Regions from separate parts of the Homo sapiens genome. Here region 1 is linked to region 2. The links are contacts of gene promoters, found by promoter capture Hi-C in human tissues and cell types (Jung and others, 2019). All regions are on one chromosome and are shown on one strand. Each heading gives the region's core, a stretch centred on a gene start or on the middle of the fragment in contact. The rest is flanking DNA. Distances are from core to core; before and after follow the strand shown. Region 1 overlaps CSMD1 (CUB and Sushi multiple domains 1). Region 2 holds the start of CSMD1 (CUB and Sushi multiple domains 1).

Region 1 (4,665 bases), core at 180-2,679, 40 kb before region 2:
TTAATACGTGAGCAGATGTTAAGACAAAAAAACATTATAGTCCTTAAAAGAAATATATATTCAAATGGAATTGTAACAGTTATTAACTCAAATTAACTGAATTTAATTCTCAAGGTAGAAGATACACTCAAAGTATAAGGTAGCACTCATTGTAGGAGGAAAATCTTTTATTTCCTAATGAGTTTTGCTGAAAATTTTCCAGCCTTATCTTTTGAACATATATTTCTAAATAGCCTAACTAAATCAGTCTTTTAGAAAGTACAATATCTATTCACAATTGAACTTGTTGTAACTTTTCATTAACAGATACTAAATCCTGAATCACCATTTATGGAAGGACTATGCGATCAACACATGTAATCAATATGAAGGACAAATAAAATCATTAAGATTAACACTATCACTTCAAATACTAAATAATTGCTTTATAAGGAGCATTTCTGGATGAACCCAACATCGTCCACGGTGGCAAGTTATGTAACTTGAACTGTGCCCTTATAAACCTTTATCTCAATTTGTTTCTCACTGTTGAGAAACGATTGTCAACTAGTCATAAAATTTAGTAAAGAAAAAAACTTGGCAATACTCATAGAAATACACAGAAGCAGTCAGAATTAAATGTTATTCACATTAAGAAAAGAATTATCAATATGCTATTTTTACATGTTGCTAAATTTGCCTGTTCCAAGATTTGGATGGAGATCAATACCTGTCTTTCTGCAAGGCTAATTCTCTCTGTCTTTGGTAATTTTCCCAAAATGTGGTTTGTGAACTATCTGCCACAGGAAGAATTATCTGGGATCCCTGTTCAAATGCAGGTTGCAGGACTCAACCCTGGGCTTAGAGATTGGACTACCCAGGAGTAGGGATCAAGGGTTTTGATGTTTAAAAAGCTCTCCTGGTGCACCTAATGCACAGTAAAGTTAAGAAATACTACCGAGATTACCAGAAACACAGCAGCAATGAAGACGTTACCCTTCCCACCCACCTGTTAAAAAGAATTGAGTGCTTTTCTTTCTCCAAATTCATAAACATTTCTTCCATGTATCCTACCTGTGCCAATTTAAACACATTATTTTATTTCTAAATGCCAAAGAGTAGGTTCAAATAAGAACCAACTATTTGCCATTTAGAAATAAACAAACAGAAAACACATTATGTGTTCCCTAACCTCAAGGAGCTCAGAGTTTAAGAAATTATTTTTAAACAATTACCAATTACGATATGGTGTGATAAGTGTTACAACAGAGGTGCAAATAACAGGTTTTAAATAAAGGAAGCTTGTTATTTAAAAAGGTGATATTTCCATTTGTAACTCTAAAGACACATTTTTTGTGTGTGATTGTTTTCTGATTGAAGCTGTTTCCAGGTTAGCACTCCCAATGCTGTGCACAATTGTATAGCTGACACCATTTATTGATTTGAATGATGACTGAAATTGATCACGTGGCACAACAGAATAGATGCATTCCACCTCAATTCATCTATAGATTTTATTTTTTTAAAAAATATGTTTAAATGATAAACACATTTTATCTACTTAGAACTTTTATACTTTCTAAAAGAAGGATATACTATAAAATAAAATCCTACCAAAAGCAAATACCCAATGTGTACTCATCTGAATTCATGTGTGTGAATGTTCCTTATAAGCTATCATAAACTACATAAGCACCATGGAAATATGCAGAGACTGGAGGATAAGAGCAATATTAATAATAACTGCTATTACACAGAATTACGGTTTTCCATACTTGACTTTAAGAAAAAAATTCTCATTTTCTCTTACTTTTGCTTTTGGTGTTGACAAGATTACACATACTAACTCATAACTTCAGGAATTCAGAGTACTTTGTTTCAAAATACCTGATTGAAATGATCAGTGAAAACATGTTTCTGTTTGTCTGTGACACTTTTATCTTTTAGAATGTTCCTGTCTAATTTTTCTGGGTTTTCAATGTTCTTTCTTAGACGAGAAAGCCAGCTGATTTTCTCGGGACATCCATTGCTGTATGTCAGTGGCTCTCAAAATAGGCTCTGGAACAATCGCTTCAGCATCACAGAAATGGCTTTAAATGGGACTCTTTGGCTGCACCTCCAGTTCCCTATATCAGAAACCCTCTGAGTGCAGACCTACGGGGCTGTTCCCGTTGGCTTCTACCCATTCGTGTGCACAGAAGTTTTCAGAAATGTTGCAATGCATCTTTGAAACACAGTCATCCTTAAAAACCAATAAAGTTGCATAAACTTGTAATTAATTTGTATTTTAAAAACTAAGGTTATAAATACAGAAAACAGTACTTCCCATGCATTTTATGACTTTTTATTATGATTGGTGTCTTTCATGTGTTGAGATTATTGATGCCTACTGTGTCTGTTTGGTGGATGCACTACTTCGACCGCAACTCTCACCTCTCTTTTTTTTTTTTATTGTGAGACAGAGTCTCACTCTGTCACCCAGGCTGGAGTGCAGTGGCATGATCTCGGCACACTGCAACCTCCGCCTCCTGGGTTCAAGAGACTCTCCTGCCTCAGCCTCCCGAGTAGCTGAGATTACAAGCATGTACCACTACACCCGGCTAATTTTTGTATTTTTAATAGAGACGGGCTTTCCCCATATTGGCCAGGCTGGTCTCGAACTCCTGACCTCAGGTGATCCACCCACCTCGGCCTCCTAAAGTGCTGGGATTACAGGCGTGAGCCACCACGCCCGGGCCCTCTCTTCCAAACTGCATGTTAGGTGGTGGCGTAACAGTACCTTCAAATTGGCCAACATGGGAATATTTAGGTCGTAGAAATTGGCAAACACTGCCAATCAGTATCTTTCCCCTCTAGAAAGTAGTTGTTAAACTTCAGAGGCAAAAAATTATATTTAAAAAGCCATCCAGGCGATTCAGATGAATGGCTGAGTTTGAGAAACGCTGTGCTGCGTTCTGTGATTTTCAGTATCTGAAGGATTCTAGACAACTACTCTCAGACTGCTCCAGTCACGTGCTCAAAGACCACTTGCTCCTATCCTGGGGTGACGTAAAACCACTTAGGGGAGAGTTATTTGGTTATCACCCTAAGAACTGCTAATTACTTTCTCGCTCATAATGGATGACAGAGTTATCATTTTTCTAGAGTTGTTTCTTTTCTACTTGGGGCCACTGGAGATTTGTTTTCTTTTTAAGTTGTTCAACACCTTTACAGCCCTCCTTACTCGCTATTTTTTTTTAATTTAAAGTGACAGACCTTGCATAGTCTCATAATTTTAAAACATTTAATAGCATATGAATAATAAAAATAATTAACATCCACTATAAATGTATACTTGTTTACCGTAAGATAGGATGATATAAGATGTATATATACACATACATTTTCAAGATATTATAAAATTCATATGTGCATATATTTAATATACATATTAAAATATATTTTAAATATATTATAAAATGCATATGTGTATAAAAATATATGTTATCATATACACACGTATTTTAAATATATTATAAAATATATGTGTATATCATAACATATAATATATTTAAAATACATGTGTATATCATCATAACAGATATTTTTATTTTATAAATATATGTAAATGCAGAAAATTACTGGAGAAAATATGAAACTTTCAGAAAACAAACAAGTTGATATTCACTCACTTACAGTATGATGAACTTAATGTTCCAACAAAGACTATGTCAACACAAGAGGAAAATATTCCAGGGAATGGAGACTTCACAAACAGGACAAGTTCACCTTCCACTTAGATTTTCTCCTCCCACCTGTTGCATTGCTTCCACGCACCTCCTGCAGAAGTCAGTGTGAACTCATGGTGTTCCCTCCACACCAAGCGGCAATCCCCAACCAGGCGCTCTCATTTTTGTCCACATTCAATTGCACTGGACACAAGGGAGGAAAGCAGCTATTTGGGAAGCCTAACCATGCTCCTGATTCTTGTGTCTGCTGAAGCAGAATCCTAAGTCTAGCTAGAAATGTGAGAAGAAATTCAGGAAGAGGAAACACATTAATTTGAGACTGTTGCCAGATATGCTAGAAGTATGAATTTTAAAATATAATAAATCATGAAGAGTAATAAAAGCAAATGAAATCTGGCAATTAGGTAAAAACAGTTTGTGACAACTGAAAAACACTGACCTGTAGACCTAAAGCTATAGCAAACTGTTCTGCCTGGGAGCCTAATATTACTGAGTTGCCTTCAGGAATCCTGGAGTCAGGCTTGAAATTCTCACCCCACACAAAGGGCAAAGCCCCTAATATTTTTTTAAACAAGGAAAGATGCGTTGGCAGAGAAGAGCACATTTGGCAGTTTGTGAAAAATTATGTTCAAAAAGCAATGAAACACAAATCTACGGGCACTATGGTCGGAAACCCTATGTAACAGGCGCTTTCTTCTTTTTGCCTAAGTTCTCTTGATCATTTCAGGGAAGACACACATATCAGAGTAGAAATAACTACTTCTTATCAACTTTTCTGAAGTGCTTATATGAGAAATTCATTGTGATATCAGTGTCTTTGTAGACAATTAAAAATAATCTTGTGAAAGATCCTCATATGAAAGAAAAAAATGCACTGAAGAAATAAATGATGTTTACCATTCTAGAGTTAAAATTAACAAAAGGATATAAAAACTCATTGCTATAGTAAGATTTTTTG
Region 2 (4,755 bases), core at 749-3,248:
GGGTGGATGCCGGTGAGGAGGAGCTGGTGCTGAGCGGTCAGCTTTCACGGAGCCCTGGACGCCCCGTGGAGGCAAGTGCAGGGAGGGGAAGCCCAGGCGGCACGTCTCTCCCCCGCTCTCCAGGCAGATCTGGAGTTTCCTAATGAACCAGATACAGTCCTCCTTCGCCCTGCCAATCACTCTTCCATCTGGACCACTGGAGGAAAAGGAAATGGGTGGAAAAGAAGATGGAAGAATCTAGAGAGGACGGGGAAATATTATGTAGGGAAAAAAGCAAGTGACCATTGAAAAAAAATCGTAAGATTGGACTCCAACCTTTAAAAATGAAACGAAAGAAAAACCCTTTGTAGATACAGATACTCCCGGGAACATCTATGGAAGTGCTGACTGATAAAGAAAGCATCTAAGGAGGCTAAAAATGAGGACAGGGGCAGGTATTTCCAATGTGAAAACCAATCAGTATTCTCTCTCTCTCTGTCTCTCTCCCTCTTTCTCGCCCTGTCTCAAAAGGGAGCTTATGTTCTTTCCCGGAGAATAAACAAGTACACAAGCTATTGCCAGCCTTGAGGTCGCAGCCTGTAGGCTACTTAGAAGAAAACATTCCCCAACTCATTCAGGGAGAAAACCAAGCTCACAGAGCCCCAAGCCCAGGAGCCACCCAGAGAAACTCCTTCCCCTGACCAGCGTAGAAGGAGGATACCCGTGCGCCCACAGTGAATGTATCTGACTTGGAAGCCGGTCCAGAACTCCTAGCCTGTTTCACGCACCTTGCCAACACCTTACAACTTGCAAGGAGCGAAGTCCGGGGGAGAGGAAAGCGGGGGCGACCTTCTAGAGGCAGCTACTCCTCGCCGGCTGAGGACGTTGGAGAGGGAAGGAGGAGAGGAGGAATGGGGTGTATGGGTGCGAGGAGGCCGGGCCGGCGGAGACCTTTGCCTATTGGTACCAAAACCCCCGTAGAGAGCCCGAACTTTCCAGGCCGGCTTCACCCGGGACGCTTTCCCAGGCGCGTCGGGTCCGGGGAGAAAGTCCTGGGAACTGCCCCTCAGCCACCCCGACCCGTGGAGTCCACGTCTCGGAGGAGGCAACACCGCCCCGGCGGAGCACAGTTCCAGCCCAACTCGTATTGGGTTCCTTTCTCCTTGACACCCTGTACTGCCGAGAAAAAGAGATCTCTCCTGTGAGCCCAAGAGAGGGGGAAGGAATGGCGGGGTGGGGCGGGGGCCCAGGAGGGCTGGGGAGAGCGCGATGGAAGCTCCCTCCCGTGCATCGCGTTCCCCGAGCTTCGGCGATGGAGCAGCGCCGGGCAGAGGCGGCCACTCCGTACCCTGCGGTCCCCAAAACGCACACTCGCGTCCGCACACGGGGCCTCCGAGGGCTCTACCGCCTCCCCGGCCAGGAGCAAGTCCGTCTTACCCTTCGCTGCAGTGAGGAGCCTCGCGCACAGCACCAGCAGCCCGAGAAGCAGGAGCAGCGACTGGAATCTCCTCCACGCAGTCATGTCTGCAGATACTCCACACGCACGCGACACCGATGGCTCCTCCGAGGAAGGCAGGGCTATGAGCGGAGCCAAATAATCACCCGAGGGCAAGGCGAGCCGGAGAGAGAGCCCGGTCCCAAGACCCGCCGCGCATCCGACGCCTCCTGAAGGTCTGGGCGCCCGGCTCGCTTCCCTCTCATAGCATCGGGTCCCGAGCCACTGCAGGGCTGAGCTGCTCCGAGCGCGGAGACCCGGGCTGGCGGGGCCGGGGCCGGGGACGAGCGCCGGCCGAGCCGGGCAGGAAGGCACCAAGGCGGCGAGGCTGCGGGAGGGGGAGAAGCGGGGAGAGGAGCGCGCGCAGCCAGGAGAGACCTGGAGAGGAGGCAGCTGGAGAGAGAGCCAGCGAGTGGGAGATGCGGGGAGGGGGGCGCGGGGGGGAGGAGAGATCCAGTCTAGAGAGAAAAGGCGGAGAGCGCAGAAGAAGGGCTGCTAGTGGCACAAGGAGCCGCTGCCGTGGAGGCTGGACTCAACCATCCTTACCCACAGAGAGGGGACCGAGGCTGGGCACGGCGCAGTCCCAGACAGACAGAGCCCAGCCTCGGGGCCTCGGGCTGCCCGCACCGTGCTGCGCTTCATTCGGCCTCAGCGCAGCAGCGCGCAGGCTGGAGAAAGGAGACTTGTTGGGCGCTCGGGTGGGGGAAGCTCACGCCGCACACCGGGGAGGAACAATGTAATCCGGCAACTCCAGCAAACTGGAGGGTTTCTGCAGGGGCAGAGTCCCGCCTCCATCCTTTGATCTCCCTTCCTTGCTGACCAGAGAGCAGCCCCCTACCTAACTTAGATCAGAAATGCAGGTGGAAAGGGCACAAGCTTCAACTCCAAGGGAGGAATATATTTATACATTTATATATATATATATATGATGATATGTATAATGTTTTGCAAGATGGACTATTTGCAAGGAGTTACACAAATTTACACATTTCCTGACTTTGGATTGTGTTAGATTTAGCCATGCCCAAACTTCAGCTTCAGATAAAACGTGACATGAGGAAGTCTCTAGAATTAATATTATGGTCTGGTTGTGAGAGCCGGCATGTTGGCACAGCTTCTGATGAAACTATATATAAAATTCTGTGGGTTGGGAAGGGACCTTAAAAGAGAAGAGACAGGTTCTCCCTGATTCTGCAAAAGGATGAAGCCCGCAGAGAGAGAACAGTGCTTTAGAATAGCAGTACTTGATACAGTAAACTGGATTTCACCCAGCTCCCCAAATAGAGGAGGCATTCCTGCAGTTCCTGGGGAACGTGTAAGGAGAGACATTTTAGGAGAAGGTGGTCAGTTAATAGAAACACCACGAGTGAGGGCTGGTTTCCATAGAAGGACATTTAAAGGATTCGACATCCTTGACCAAAAAGGTTTAGCCCTTTCAGAGGACAGAACGTGGAAATCCCATACCCTAGTAAGAGAGAATTAGCCTCCAGGCCTGGAACCATTAGAGTATACAACCATCTACCTGCGGTATCCCCACAGCACCGAATGCCTGTGGTGGGAGGGACAGCCCACCGCTTCATCCCACCTGCACTTCCTCTGTCAGTCTTTGAGATTAAATGGGTTGACAGTTTGATAAAGTTTTATATCCCTCCTTCAATTTTCTTAGATTGCTCCTGCCTCTGTGACCTAGTCTACCCTAGAAAGGCATAATGGATCCAGGAAGGACTGCAACCTTGGCATGGAAACACCGAAGCCTGACTTTCTTAGTCTCCCTGCAGCCTAAGGTGCAGGTGGCCACAATTGGGGCCACCTCCACAACCCTTTTCTCCTCGCAGATATATGAGATTTAAATATGGGGTGGGTGGGGAGGGAGAGAATGCGTGCTCTTGGAGTTGCAGTCCTGAACATGACTTGGATTTTCCTCAGCGCAGAGTCCCGTCTTGCCTCATGTATCCCTGGAGGGACACTCGGAAGACAGAATGCCTCAGTCACGGGGGAATTCCCATAGAACCCCTGAGTTCTATTCTTCAGGCTGAACCGGGCCTGTGGAGCAGAGGGTCGCCCCCTCTGGGATTTTAAATCAGACCTCAGATAGTATCTGTGAGTCAGCGAGTGAACAAAAATGCTTTCCAAGACCCATTAAGTGCTCCAATAGTTCATTTCAAGCGCCTCATCCGGAAAAACGGATCTCTTTTCAGGAGCTTAAGAGCTGACTTCTTCTTGAGAAACGGTGCCCTGTCTCTACACTGCCATTCCTAATGGCTCGTGTCACCAAGAAGGATTTCTGCCATTAAAAAACGTTTCCAACATCTAACCATCCTAGGCTAGGACTCATAGATGATTTTCACTTGATTAGGATCCCAATCAGGAACGACGGTGAGTGTCACCTGAGAGATGGAACACCTTTCCACATAATTGTGACAGGCTCCGGGCTGAACTTCCCTTTTCCTGTGTTCTGTTGAAAAACGTCCCATGCCACCTCCTTTCCCCAGAGAGCAAAGAATCTATCTGATACAAAGCCTTGAGAAATAATGGTCCAGATAACCAATAACCACTCATTTTTTTTGCTGTTATTTATGTGGGGTATTTTCTTTGGCCCGATCGTATATTAGAGAGTTACAATGATTCGTACCAAATTGTTTATTGATCATGATTATGAGAAGGGTATGAAACGGCTGACAAATAAAATAAGCTGGTTTTCTGATATGGTTGTATTTGTGTGTTTATACAGTGAATTTTTCGCCCAAGATCTCAAGGCTGGCTTAATTTGGAAGGAAAACATGGGGCTCTGCTGCCATCTAGCGTCCAATATTTCTTGTTTGGCGTTTGCAGAGAGATCAGTGGTCCCTCTGTTTTACTTCTCTGACCTCCTCTGCGGTTCCCTGCCTGCGTTTTGAATCTCCTCCAGAACACTCTTGTGCCCTCCTTGCGGTCCAGCTTGAGCCTATTAGAACACTGCAAGCTCCCCCGACACATACATACACACTTTGATGTGTAAATGATTGCGAAAGCCTTAATCTATATCAGAAGTCCAGTACATGTTACTTAGGGCAGTATTAACCACACGTGGTTAGAGTGAGTGTGGGGGCCCAGGGACGTCACACCAGGAAGCTCTGTGGCCACTTCTCTGCCAGGGCCTGTGCTGCCTGGAACATCATACTTCTCTACTTGTATACTGACTCCATTCCCCATCCTGGGCCTCACACTCTCCACAGCCTCAGGACCTGGCTAAGCAACACTAGAAATACCCTTGGCACTCGGGACCGATCAGAGAGTTGAGC

Evidence for each region. The method cuts DNA at HindIII sites, captures the fragments that hold promoters and counts their contacts. A contact is called where the count stands out against the background at its distance.
Region 1: a contact is called between a fragment that was not itself captured here and the fragment with the promoter of CSMD1 in region 2, in 3 of the 25 tissues and cell types used here (adrenal gland, hippocampus and stomach).

Annotation. Positions count from the first base shown.
Region 1 is chr8:4,953,040-4,957,704 of GRCh38, forward strand. The region is part of intron 1 of CSMD1 (CUB and Sushi multiple domains 1); the gene reads right to left. Among named protein-coding and RNA genes, the nearest start is that of CSMD1, 40 kb to the right of the region's middle. The HindIII fragment of the contact is 4,112 bases long and covers 1-3,485 here.
Region 2 is chr8:4,992,916-4,997,670 of GRCh38, forward strand. CSMD1 (CUB and Sushi multiple domains 1) reads right to left here and starts at 1,999. Exons shown (of 70, transcript NM_033225.6): 1 at 1,417-1,999. The coding sequence starts at 1,501. The HindIII fragment of the contact is 12,651 bases long and covers 1-4,349 here.